Regions from separate parts of the Homo sapiens genome. Here all the other regions are linked to region 1. The links are contacts of gene promoters, found by promoter capture Hi-C in blood cells and fetal thymus (Javierre and others, 2016). All regions are on one chromosome and are shown on one strand. Each heading gives the region's core, a stretch centred on a gene start or on the middle of the fragment in contact. The rest is flanking DNA. Distances are from core to core; before and after follow the strand shown. Region 1 holds the start of LRRC27 (leucine rich repeat containing 27). Region 2 overlaps JAKMIP3 (Janus kinase and microtubule interacting protein 3). Region 3 overlaps JAKMIP3 (Janus kinase and microtubule interacting protein 3).

Region 1 (4,044 bases), core at 1,309-3,808:
CATTAAAAGTGACACCTGTGTAACAGGAGCCAGGACAAGGCAGGTCCCTGTGACCAGTGCCTCACCCTAGATGTCAGCATGAAGGAAAGAAAGAGCAAGACCAGCGCTGCCGTGACAGCAAAGACAATGCAAATGTAGAGTTTATAACTTAAGCAGCCACTAAAAATCTAAATATGTAGCTCTTGTAGAAGCACTCAAAAATGTCAATCTGGCCAGGTGCGGTGGCTTACACCTGTAATTCCAGCACTTTGGGAAGCTGAGACAGGCAGATCACCTGATCTCAGGCATTCAAGATCAGCCTGGGCAACATGGTGAAACCCCATCTCTACTAAAAATACAAAAAGAAAGTCAATCAATATCATAACTATGTTCCAGACACTGAACTTTCACATTATTCATTTTCACAATAAATGATGTGAAAACATGATCATTCCGACATTCCAGATTAAACCAAATGAGGTTTAAGGAAATTCTGTGAGTCCCAGCAGGGACAAGTGCTGCAGGGGGAACCCTCAACTGTCTAACATCAAACCTGTGCCCTCACAGAAGCTTTCTCTAGAAATCACATGGACAAGACAGCATCTACTGCGGACTGACCCGGAGAAGGGCCGGGCACAAAGTAAAACCAGTGTGTAACATGAGCAAAATCATGGGTGAGAACAAAGTTTTTAACTGCTCATGTTGCCTGATTTTCTTTAAGGTTTTGTGTTTTAATTAAGAGACCAAGCGTGTTTGGCAGTAGTTTCTACCACAGGTTTTGAGAGATGAACTGCAAGGAAGAGAACAGACACCTTCATCTAAATAGATGTACTATTTCCATTGGTTGGTCCCCATCATGAATTTCCCATTTTGTTGTGATTGGCGTATGAAACTATGAGTTAACCTTTCCTCTATTTAATTTTAGAATTCATCAATTCCAAAGAGAAAGAAGCCTACAAATAAAGCCCAGGGGTACATTCCCATTTCTGTCTATAGGGGACCTGTGGGCACACAGCCTGAGGAGCAGCCCCACTTACTTGAAGGCTGGGGATTCTAAAGACCTCCTCCAAACGGCACAGACCACTTTCACTCAAGTCTAAAATCGGTGAGGAGGAAAAGATGATGCCTCCAACACCCTTGTGAACATCTTTGGAGGGGGTGGCAGGCAAGCTCCTAGTCTGACCAGCACCCTCCTCCAGATCAGCAGCAGCCACAGAGGGAACTTCGTAGGAGCTGCTTCCCTCCATCCGTTCTCTTCCAGGGACAGCAGCTCATCCTCCTTGGTCTGGAGTCACCTGGAGACACGGGAAAGGGAAACGTAGAAGCAACTAATTATACCGAGGCAAAACAGAATAGCTGTGTGGCAGATCTACTGTAATGTAACTTGCTTTAAAAGCTATCATTTTTCCTAAGCAGTAGCAAAAATTTGACTTTTAAACATGTAAAAAAAAAAAAAAGGAATACAAAGAGGTTCAGATTAAAATTCTCTGCTCTCACTTTGTACAATGGAGTTCCAAGATTTAACTCCTGGAAAACGCAAAGGCGCACAATAGTAATGATCATTTTAGGGATGTAAACAGATCGGAACATTTCAAAGCCTGTAAATCAACTGCAACGCTTCCATGAAATGACTAGGGGCGGGTGGAAATTTGCACTGTTTCTTACCTCTGGTGTGGTTCTGTGCCATTTGAACTATGTTTTTAGTTTCTTGAGGCCAGGAAGCCTGTCTTTTGTTTACCATTTTGACCCAGTGACCAGAACTAAGTCTGGCTTACACCCAGTTAAGCACCGGGGAAAAACCTGTTAAATTAATCTCGAATTTTCGTTGTCCAGCAACACTTTTACTCAGAAGTATTGTTCACCAAAATCTCATTCAGCGAGGCACACTTCCACTTGCAATTTCCAAACAATTTATTCGGCAATAAGAATCAACGTTGGAATGCATCAGTTCACCTAATTCAAGTCACTCAACAGCCCAATGATTGGCATATGAGGCGCAGATCAGTTAGGGAACTGTTCCAGGGGCGCAGTTAATTGGGGGGTAGAGGCGACACCGGGACCCAGCAGGGTTCAACCCCAGGCAGCCTGCATTCCATGGAAGCCCGCGGGCTTTTTCACGGTCAGTTCACTTGTTTTCTCCGAATCACGGAACTTAAAACAGAGGAGGGGAGGCTTCAAACCTCAGAACAGGGAAAGTATCTTAAAACCAGAAGTGAAACAACAGCCTGGACTCACACAGGGCCCAGGCAGCGCAGGCTCCGTGGGGTTTCCGAGGCTGCCTTCAAGGGATCCCCACGCACGCCCACCCCCGCTCCCTGCCTCGATTTCCCCATCCGGGCGAGGCTGAGTTGGGTCCGACGCTCTGGGCCTCACATTCCAGGCCTCAGAAGGGCAGCCTTTGCGGTCAGCATCGCGGCTGGAGCTAGGCGACAGGGCACGACGGGCCGAGGCACCACCTTCCTGCCGCCGCCCGCCTCGAGGGCTCAGCGAGCTGGCCGTACCCGCCCCGTCTCACCTGCCGCGTCCCCGCCCACTGAAGCGCTGGCGAGCCCCGCCGCTGAGAGCAGCAGCCCGACAATGGAGGCCACCCAGCCAACGCGGTCGCCATGGAGACGCCGGTACGGAATCCCGCAGGCGCCACGCTGAGCGCGAGTGTGTCTGTGATGCGCCTGCGCGAGGGGTGTGGTGCGCCTGCGCGCGGGGGTGTGCGTGTTGTGGGGGTTTGTGCCTGCGTGCGGGGGCGGGGTGTGGGTGCCCCTGCGCGGCAGGGGGTCGGGTGTGGTGCGCCTGCCCGGGAGGGGGCGGGGTGTGGTGCGCCTGCGCTGGGGCGGGGGGTTGCGCTTGCGGTGGGGGGGTTGTGGTGCGCCTGCGCGGGGGTGGCAGGGGGTGGTGCGCCTGCGCACGCACGCGGCCAACGGTAGCATCCGTTTTTCCGCGCCCGCGGCCTTGAAGGGGTGGTGGTCGACGGGCAAGTAGAGACCGCGAGGGTCTGGAGGGGCGACCGGCCTGGCACAGAGGGGAAGGAAGAGAGCGGGATGCTAAGTGCCGTCTGGGGAGCCGGAGGGCCCGGGGCGGGCGGGGCTGCTCGAGGACAGCCGAGCAGAAAAGAATTGCTGCTGAGGCACCACCTTTGGAGCGGTCCTCGCTGCCTGTCCTTCCCGCTGGGCTCACTCCCCGCGTCTCTCCTGGGGCTTCCTGGAGCCACTTCCCACAGGAGCTGCTTGTCCCCAAATCTTGCCTCAGGACTTGCTGCCAGGGGAACGCAGACTCAGAGCGTCCTCTTTGGAGAAGTAAGGCTGCCTCTGGACGGAGGAGTGAGGGGGGCGAGGAAACGCAGTGAGTGTCCTGAGGAAGGGTTTTGAGAATTTGGAAGAAGATGAAATGACACCGGGCGGGAGGGGAGGTGCTCGCGTGGTCCTGTGGAACCCTGGAGTCCCGTGCACCTTCATTCCAGGATCCAACTGATAATGAAAAGTAGCACCCTCTGTCCCACCCAGAAACACTCTGGAAACCCGGACAGTTTAGCTGGAGTCTGCCATGATTTCACTTTTTTTTTTTTTTTTTTTTTTTTGAGGTGGAGTCTTGCTTTGTCTCCCAGGCTGGAGTGCAGTAGCGCGATCTCGGCCCACTGCGACCTCCGCCTCCCAGGTTCAAGCAATTCTCCTGCCTCAGCCTCCCCAGTAGCTGGGACTACAGGCGCGCGCCACCACGTCCAGCTAATTTTTGTATTTTTAGTAGAGACGGGGTTTCATCATGTTGGCCAGGCTGGTCTCGATCTCCTGACCTCATGATCCGCCCCCCTCGGCCTCCCAAAGTGCTGGGATTACAGGCATGAGCCACCGTGCCCGGCCTGATTCCACTTTTTAAAGGAAACGACATAATTATGTGGAGAAACGACTATCCACTTTGAGGGGATTTACGTTTTATTTTTGTGAAGAGATCACAGTAAGAAATGTTTTTTAGGCCGGACACGATGGCTCACGCCTGTAACCCTAGCACTTTGGGAGGCCAGGGTGGGAAGATCGCTTGAGGCCAGGAGTTGGAGACCAGCCTGGGCAACCCAGT
Region 2 (4,013 bases), core at 15-2,514, 150 kb after region 1:
CCAGGAAGGCACCTTGGCCAAAGCCGGCTCCTTCGCAGATGACCCGGGCCAGGGTCCGAGCGCCAGGCTGTGACCCCGCGAGGCTGTTCCACGCTGGCCGCGAGAGACGGAGGGCAGGAGGGGCCCGAATAGGACAGAGAGAGAGAGAGAGAGAGACAGAAGGAGGCGCACGCGCTCCCCAGGGACCGGGACGCGGTGGTGGGCGGGACCTCGCGGGGGTGGGGGGTGGTCGCAGGACCCAGAAGGCTCAGGACCTTTACGGATAGGGAGGACCCCGCAGGGGGGAGCGGGGGAGCCCCACGCCCGGCGTCCTCCGGGTGCGAGGGTCTCGGGGAGTCCGAGCCCGGGCCCACGGCCTCTGTCCCGCGGCCACTACCTGCTGGGGGTCCCGGGCCTGGGCCACGCCGGGCTGCCCTCGGGGACTTGCTGCGGCCGTTGAGGGGTCTCCGCGCGCCGCGCAGACTCGCCTCCCAACCCGAGGGCCCGGGCGGCCGCCGCCCAGAGCGTCCAGCGGCAGCGTCTTGCTCTCGAAGGCGTCCTCCACGCAGCGGAACACGCAGCCAAGCTTGGGCCGGGCCAGAGGCCTCGCGGGCTCCTGAGGCTGCCGCGCGGTCACGGCAGGAGCGGGCGACAGAATCCGGTCTCGGAGCCTCCTGTAGCGAGGTCTGCGCGGCAGGTGCACTGGGCGGACCTGGAGGCCGCGCCCTCCCCCCCCGCCTCCTGCCGCCCGGCAGCGCTGCGCGGAGCTGGCTCTGTCCACGTAGCGGGTGCTGAACGCCCCATTCTGGCCCCTGGGTGCTCGCTTAGTCCCGGCCACGCGTGGCTGCTCGCCCTCGGGACACACTGGGCGCTGGGAAGGCCGGGCGGGGAGCGCGCACCGGAGAAACCGCTGTGGGAATCCCGGCCACATTTCCAGGCCCCTTGGGCCGTCCCACGCCAGACAAGAAAGCCCTGACTCCGAAACCCTGGGCGAGTGTGGAGGGCGCGCGGGGGTGGGGTGTACCCGCCCACGCAAACTGCTGCTGATCTCCCTTAAAGCCGAGTTAGAGGCTTGGGGCGAGACAGGAGTGACGGGCGATGCTGTCACTCCATCTGTCATTCTACCCAGCCTGCAGCAGCTGAATTCGAACCCAGAGACTTCAGGCCTTTGCGTTGTTACCGCAGTCCGCATTTCAAAGCCAGAGTTTGGCCACTGAGTCACCATGACCTCGAGTACTGGCGGGGCCCGAGCCAGCAGAGCTAGGTCCAGCAGCTTCCCACCCCTTCGTCCTCCTCTGGGCTCCCCCTCCCCTAAATGATTAATGCAATGTCTGTTACTCACCTGTGTGGGACCGTCCACGGCAAATATCACCAACTGTTCTTATGCACGTGCAGAAGTTCCGTCCCTTTCCTAACTGTCTGATCTCTTCCATGGTTCACATTTGACCAACAGCCACAGGAGGGAGCCTCCCAGGTGGTCGACCGGAGCCAGGTGCTGCCAGGCACCCGACTGCAGAGCTTGCCCTCCAGGTGATCTCGCAGGTGAGAACTGGGGCTTTCCTCCACAGTGGGCGGAAGGCGCGGACTCCGTTTCTGGTGTGCAGAGGCACTGTTCAGAGAATGAACTCAGAAGTGCAGAAATGGCTCATACGGCTTTCAGTTCAAACTTTAATACCTTTGAGGGGACTTTAATCGTCTAAGATTTAAAACATTTTTTATTAAAACTGTACAATAATTTACAAACGAGTAAAAAATTCTCTGGTATATATCATAGGAATCACAATACAAAAATATTTGTAAAATCTTGTAGATCACCATACAAACCTATTTTAGGCCTGTGAATACTGCTTAGCATGGAACGGAATGTCACGTGGTTAGAGGGTGACTATGAAGGGAGTGCCTGGGAGAATACACACACTACCTGGCATGCCGCCGTAAGAAAACAGGCCCGGTTAGTTTTTGCATAAATTTACAATAAAGCTTTTTAAAAAATATACAGTAAACAAATATATGATTTGATACCTATATTCACAATATGAGTTTCCTGAGGCTAAACTGAATTCCATTACTGTGATAAAACACACACTCTCTCTCAGGGTTTCAAGGATGGGATGACGGTGAGTTGGCGAATGCGTCAGTGCCTCCAAACCCACACTTGGGCACTCTCTTCTTTTTGACTTCTAGTATCGGTGTTCACAAGCCCTGTAAGGCACTCGGGGTATCCTGAAGGCTACAGATTCTGCAAGGGCAGAGACTTTAAGGAACAGCCATAGTCCTTCTCCAGCTCAAAATCTGGACCATGGGCACAAGGTAAACAACACACTGGTGTCAACAAAGGAATCTGCTATTTATGTGGATTTTTACTTTAGACAAACTAAAGTATCTATGTTGTTCTGTGTGTTGAACACAGAGTGTGATGATGTTAATATAATGTAAATGTTGATGTAACAGTACATTTCTGGCAACATTTCAGGGTCCTTCCTCTTGCCTTATTAGGGGGTGATGCATTCATACAGACTTCCCCTGTTAGAAGAGCTAGCAGTAAGACAGCCCAAGTACTTGGAGGAAATTCACTCTAGCCCATTGGTTTGGAAAAGAAGGTATAGCCTGCAATTTAGAAATGCACCTTATTTTTAAATACTTGAATTCTGCTGCTGCTCACTGGACCAGGAGGAGTCAGTGATAAATGCTCATATTTACCTTTTTGGGGGCAAAAACCCAGTTCTGAAATGCTGGGTATTGTAATCAGATGTAAAGAAGGTGCCTATGATAGACGAGTGAAAACAATGATATCTAAGGAGAGGAACTGACGCTCCAACTAGATGTGTGCTTTCAGGAATGGGGCAGAGACGCGATGCAGTTTGGATGTTATTCAGCACATTCCTTGCACCTTCTCCCGTTCCTATATACATACTTTTTACATATAAACAATTACAACTTCATAAGGATTTGGTACATATTTACATGCTTCTCTTTGCCGTATAGTTTGCCTTATTATTATTACAGAACTGTGATTAAGAGTGTCTGTGGTGGATAGAGGTGTATGAAGTGCTCCAGACATATATACAACATGCTAAACCATGATGACCCAAATAAACATGAGGGATGTGAATCTGGGAATGTGAGTTTCACTGCACATCTTTAGATCCGAAACAGCTGGCCCATGCAGCTGTTGTTCCCATGCAGGTACACATTGGGACCATGCCAGGAGCTCTCCCAGAGGAGGAGGCCAGGCTGGCAGGGAGCCAGGTAGAGTTACAACATATTTCTGGATGCCTGCATCGTAGAGTCCATCGGACTTCAACCCAGCGGTTCACCCACAGCGCCACGGTAGCTTTTATTAACACAAGGCTATTGTGTGCCATTCAGTTGTGAGTATAATAAATGTGCCAAGAAGATGCAGTCGTTAAAATGAGACAAAACTATGCACAGAGGACTAAACAGGATTTCAGACTCGAGACGCAAACCCCGAGGTCAGGCTCAGCTAGAGACACTGAACTGGCCCAGTATCTTGCCGAGTAAATCAGGAACTGTGGCTTGAATGACAACAGAAATGGATGGGTCTTTCTTGGACAAGTGCTGATTAATAGTGCATTTTCCAGCAAAAATCCTGCAGCCACCAAAGAAAAAGCATATCTGTCTGATACTATTAGCTTTTCCCTGATTTCAACCTAGGGAGCCATGCCTGGTCCGCAGCCACCGTGTCATCTGCCCCAAAGTCAGACATTTCTTCTGACACAAATATAAAATGAGCCTAATACTTCCAGACAACCCAGTCCTCCCTACGGCAGCTGAGTCGTGTCTTTTATACAATGCTGCCAGTAACAGTCACACCTGGCTGCACAGCTGGCTGCCTCAACTTCTAGGTGCCTCGAAATGGCTAAATCCCACGAATGGCTCTTCTGGTTGCGTGAAAACATGCATAAACGCATGCTTGTGCACACAAGTGAGCACACACACACACCTCCTGTCAATTCAGCTCTGAGAGCAGAACCTTAGCCCACCTAGGGTGGGAGGACACAGAAGTTCCATCT
Region 3 (4,137 bases), core at 1,143-3,642, 170 kb after region 1:
TCACCCAAGAAAAGACCCCCTAGCTTCACCCAAGAAGAGGCCCCCCCCAGCATCACACAGGGAGAGACACCCCCCAGCATCACACAGGGAGAGACACCCCCCAGCATCACACAGGGAGAGATACCCCCCAGCATCACACAGGGAGAGATACCCCCCAGCATCACACAGGGAGAGATACCCCCCAGCATCACACAGGGAGAGATACCCCCCAGCATCACACAGGGAGAGACACCCCCCAGCATCACACAGGGAGAGACACCCCCCAGCATCACACAGGGAGAGATACCCCCCAGCATCACACAGGGAGAGACCCCCCCCAGCATCACACAGGGAGAGGCCCCCCAGCATCACACAGGAAGAGACCCCCCCAGCATCACACAGGAAGAGGCCACCGCCTGCATCACACAGGAAGAGGCTCCCCAGCATCACACAGGGAGAGGCCCCCCCCAGTAAGACACAGGAATAGACCCCCCCCAGCATCACACAGGAAGAGGCCCCCCCAGCATCACACAGGGAGACCGCCCCCCCAACATCACACAGGGAGAGACCACCCCAGCATCACACAGGGAGAGACCACCCCAGCATCACACAGGGAGAGGCCCCCCCAGCATCACACAGGGAGAGGCCCCCCCAGCATCACACAGGGAGAGGTCCCCCAGCATCACACAGGAAGAGACCCCCCAGCATCACACAGGAAGAGGCTCCCCAGCATCACACAGGGAGAGGCCCCCTCAATAAGACACAGGAATAGACCCCCCCCAGCATCACACAGGAAGAGGCCCCCCCAGCATCACACAGAAAGACACGCCCCCAGCATCACACAGGAAGAGGCCCCCCCAGCATCACACAGTGAGAGGCCCCCCCCAGCATCACACAGGGAGAGGCCCACCCAGCATCACACAGGGAGAGGCCCACCCAGCATCACACAGGAAGAGACCCCCTAGCATCACACAGGAAGAGGCCACCGCCTGCATCACACAGGGAGAGGCCCCCCCCAGTAAGACATAGAAGTAGACCCCCACCAGCATCACACAGGAAGAGGCCCCCCCCAGCATCACACAGGGAGACCCCCCCCCCAGCATCACACAGGAAGAGACCCCCCAGCATCACACAGGAAGAGACCCCCCCAGCATCACACAGGGAGAGGCCCCCCCAGCATCACACAGGGAGAGGCCCCCCCCAGTAAGACATAGAAGTAGACCCCCACCAGCATCACACAGGAAGAGGCCCCCCCCAGCATCACACAGGGAGACCCCCCCCCCAGCATCACACAGGAAGAGACCCCCCAGCATCACACAGGAAGAGACCCCCCCAGCATCACACAGGGAGAGGCCCCCCCAGCATCACACAGGGAGAGGCCCCCCCAGCATCACACAGGGAGAGGTCCCCCAGCATCACACAGGAAGAGACCCCCCCAGCATCACACAGGAAGAGGCTCCCCAGCATCACACAGGGAGAGGCCCCCTCAATAAGACACAGGAATAGACCCCCCCCAGCATCACACAGGAAGAGGCTCCCCAGCATCACACAGGGAGAGGCCCCCTCAATAAGACACAGGAATAGACCCCCCCCAGCATCACACAGGAAGAGGCCCCCCCAGCATCACACAGTGAGAGGCCCCCCCCAGCATCACACAGGGAGAGGCCCACCCAGCATCACACAGGGAGAGGCCCACCCAGCATCACACAGGAAGAGACCCCCTAGCATCACACAGGAAGAGACCCCCCCCAGCATCACACAGGAAGAGGCCACCGCCTGCATCACACAGGAAGAGACCCCCCCAGCATCACACAGGAAGAGGCCACCGCCTGCATCACACAGGAAGAGGCTCCCCAGCATCACACAGGGAGAGGCCCCCCCCAGTAAGACATAGAAGTAGACCCCCACCAGCATCACACAGGAAGAGGCCCCCCCAGCATCACACAGGGAGACCCCCCCCCAGCATCACACAGGAAGAGACCCCCCAGCATCACACAGGAAGAGACCCCCCCAGCATCACACAGGGAGAGGCCCCCCAGCATCACACAGGGAGAGGCCCCCCAGCATCACACAGCGAGAGGCCCCCCAGCATCACACAGGAAGAGACCCCCCAGTATCACACAGGAAGAGGCCCCCCCAGTATCACACAGGAAGACATGCCCCCAGCATCACACAGGGAGAGGCCCCCTGAGCATCACATAGGGAGAGGACCCCCCAGCATCACACAGGGAGAGGCCCCCCAGCATCACAAAGGAAGAGGACCCCCAGCATCACATAGGAAGACATGCCCCCAGCATCACACAGGGAGACACGCCCCCCCAGCATCACACAGGGAGAGACCCTCCCAGCATCACACAGGAAGACACACCCCCAGCATCACACAGGGAGAGCCTCCTCCAGCATTACACAGGAAGAGAGCCCCCCCACCCAGCATCACGCAGAAAAAACACACCCCCGGCATCCACAGGAATAGGCCCCCTCAGTAAGACACAGGAATAGACCCCCCCCAACCAGCATCACACAGGGAGAGGCCCCCTCAGCATCACACAGGGAGAGGCGCCCTCAGCATCACACAGGGAGAGGCGCCCCCAGCATCACAGAGGAAGAGGTGCCCCCGACATCACACAGGGAGAGGCCCCCCCAGCATCACACAGGGAGAGATGCCCCCACAGCATCACACAGGGAGAGATGCCCCCACAACATCACACAGGAAGAGATACCCCCACAACATCACACAAGGAGAGACGCCCCCAGAATCACACGGGGAGAGACGCCCCCAGAATCACACGGGAAGACACAACCCCAGCGTCACACAGGGAGAGGGCCCTCTGACATCACACAGGAAGAGACCCCCCCCAGCATCACACAGGGAGAGGCCCCCCCCCAGCATCACACAGCGAGAGATCCCCCCCAGCATCACACAGCGAGAGGTCCCCCCCCCCAGCATCACAAAGGAAGATGCCCCTCCCACAGCATCACACAGGAAGATGCCCCTCCCACAGCATCACACAGGAAGATGCCCCTCCCACAGCATCACACAGGAAGATGCCCCTCCCACAGCATCACACAGGAAGATGCCCCTCCCACAGCATCACACAGGAAGATGCCCCTCCCACAGCATCACACAGGAAGATGCCCCTCCCACAGCATCACACAGGAAGATGCCCCTCCCACAGCATCACACAGGAAGATGCCCCTCCCACAGCATCACACAGGAAGATGCCCCTCCCACAGCATCTCACAGGAAGATGCTCCTCCCACAGCATCTCACAGGAGGATGCCCCCAGTCCCCTCCAGAGTAGGGGCCATTAATCCTGGCCCAACCAGCAACCATGTGCCTCCCCACTGGTCTTTGGGGCTGAATGATCCCCTGAGCAGTTGGCCCCATCTGAGGTCTGAGAACACAGCTACTGTGGAGGTGGCAGAGAGAGGTGGCCTCACAGAAAGCTGAAGCTGGGCTTTGATCTTCTGGAAATGTGTGTGGAGACCTACATCTCTAATCCCATGGGGTGTCCATGGGATGTTTGATCACAAGGACCATGGTGGCAGTTGCTCTGGGCCAGGGCCCCCACTCCTGGAGCTCTCTATGCTCAGATCCTGCATTCTGGTCAGGTCAAGGGGGCCCATAGGCCACTTCTCCACTCATGGGACAACTCTCCCGACCCAGTGGAGGGATTCTGGGACTGAGGCATCACTCCAGACACAATCTTACAAAGGGGAATTATCTGTGACGTTAGGGTGGAAAAGGTGGATGGCTGAGTAGACAGATGCTGCCGGGGGCGGGGCGGGGCGGGGCGGGGCGGGGGGGCGGTGGGCAGCCATCCTGGAGGTGCATAAATTTCCATTTCCTCTTTACACCTGCCTCACACACACCTCAAAGTAATGCTGAAAGAAAACACTGGAATTTTTTTGTACAATCTCTTTTTTTTTTCTGTACGAAGTTGAAATTATGCCATAAAACCTGGAGGCCATCAACCTCGTAAAAATTACCCAAATTCTGCCAGGCCCTCAAAACAGTGTTTGATATCAAAGAGCAACAACAAGCTGGGTGAAATATTTGCCATGTCCCATTCTTCTGACTAAGGAAATAAAGGAAATATTTGCAATGGATGGCAAAGGGCTGGTTGCCTTCTTTTATCAAGAGCTCTGACCAAAATG

The links. The method cuts DNA at HindIII sites, captures the fragments that hold promoters and counts their contacts. A CHiCAGO score of 5 or more calls a contact.
Region 2: a fragment that was not itself captured here is called in contact with the fragment with the promoter of LRRC27 in region 1 in 2 of 17 cell types (non-activated CD4 T cells and naive CD4 T cells); the score reaches 5.4 in non-activated CD4 T cells.
Region 3: a fragment that was not itself captured here is called in contact with the fragment with the promoter of LRRC27 in region 1 in 2 of 17 cell types (naive CD8 T cells and naive CD4 T cells); the score reaches 6.6 in naive CD8 T cells.

The regions. Positions count from the first base shown.
Region 1 is chr10:132,330,707-132,334,750 of GRCh38, reverse strand. LRRC27 (leucine rich repeat containing 27) reads right to left here and starts at 2,558. Exons shown (of 11, transcript NM_030626.3): 1 at 2,495-2,558; 2 at 1,017-1,274. The coding sequence starts at 1,226. It also overlaps a transcript of STK32C not described here. RefSeq lists a silencer at 2,737-2,856 and an enhancer at 2,741-3,275. The HindIII fragment of the contact is 6,954 bases long and covers 552-4,044 here.
Region 2 is chr10:132,182,473-132,186,485 of GRCh38, reverse strand. JAKMIP3 (Janus kinase and microtubule interacting protein 3) reads right to left here. Exons shown (of 24, transcript NM_001323087.2): 24 at 1,628-4,013. JAKMIP3-AS1 (JAKMIP3 antisense RNA 1) reads left to right here. Exons shown (of 4, transcript NR_184044.1): 1 at 1-1,521; 2 at 2,164-2,289. Among named protein-coding and RNA genes, the nearest start is that of JAKMIP3-AS1, 2.3 kb to the left of the region's middle. The HindIII fragment of the contact is 1,394 bases long and covers 568-1,961 here.
Region 3 is chr10:132,157,724-132,161,860 of GRCh38, reverse strand. All of the region lies in intron 19 of JAKMIP3 (Janus kinase and microtubule interacting protein 3), which reads right to left. Among named protein-coding and RNA genes, the nearest start is that of JAKMIP3-AS1, 27 kb to the left of the region's middle. The HindIII fragment of the contact is 6,467 bases long and covers 1-4,137 here.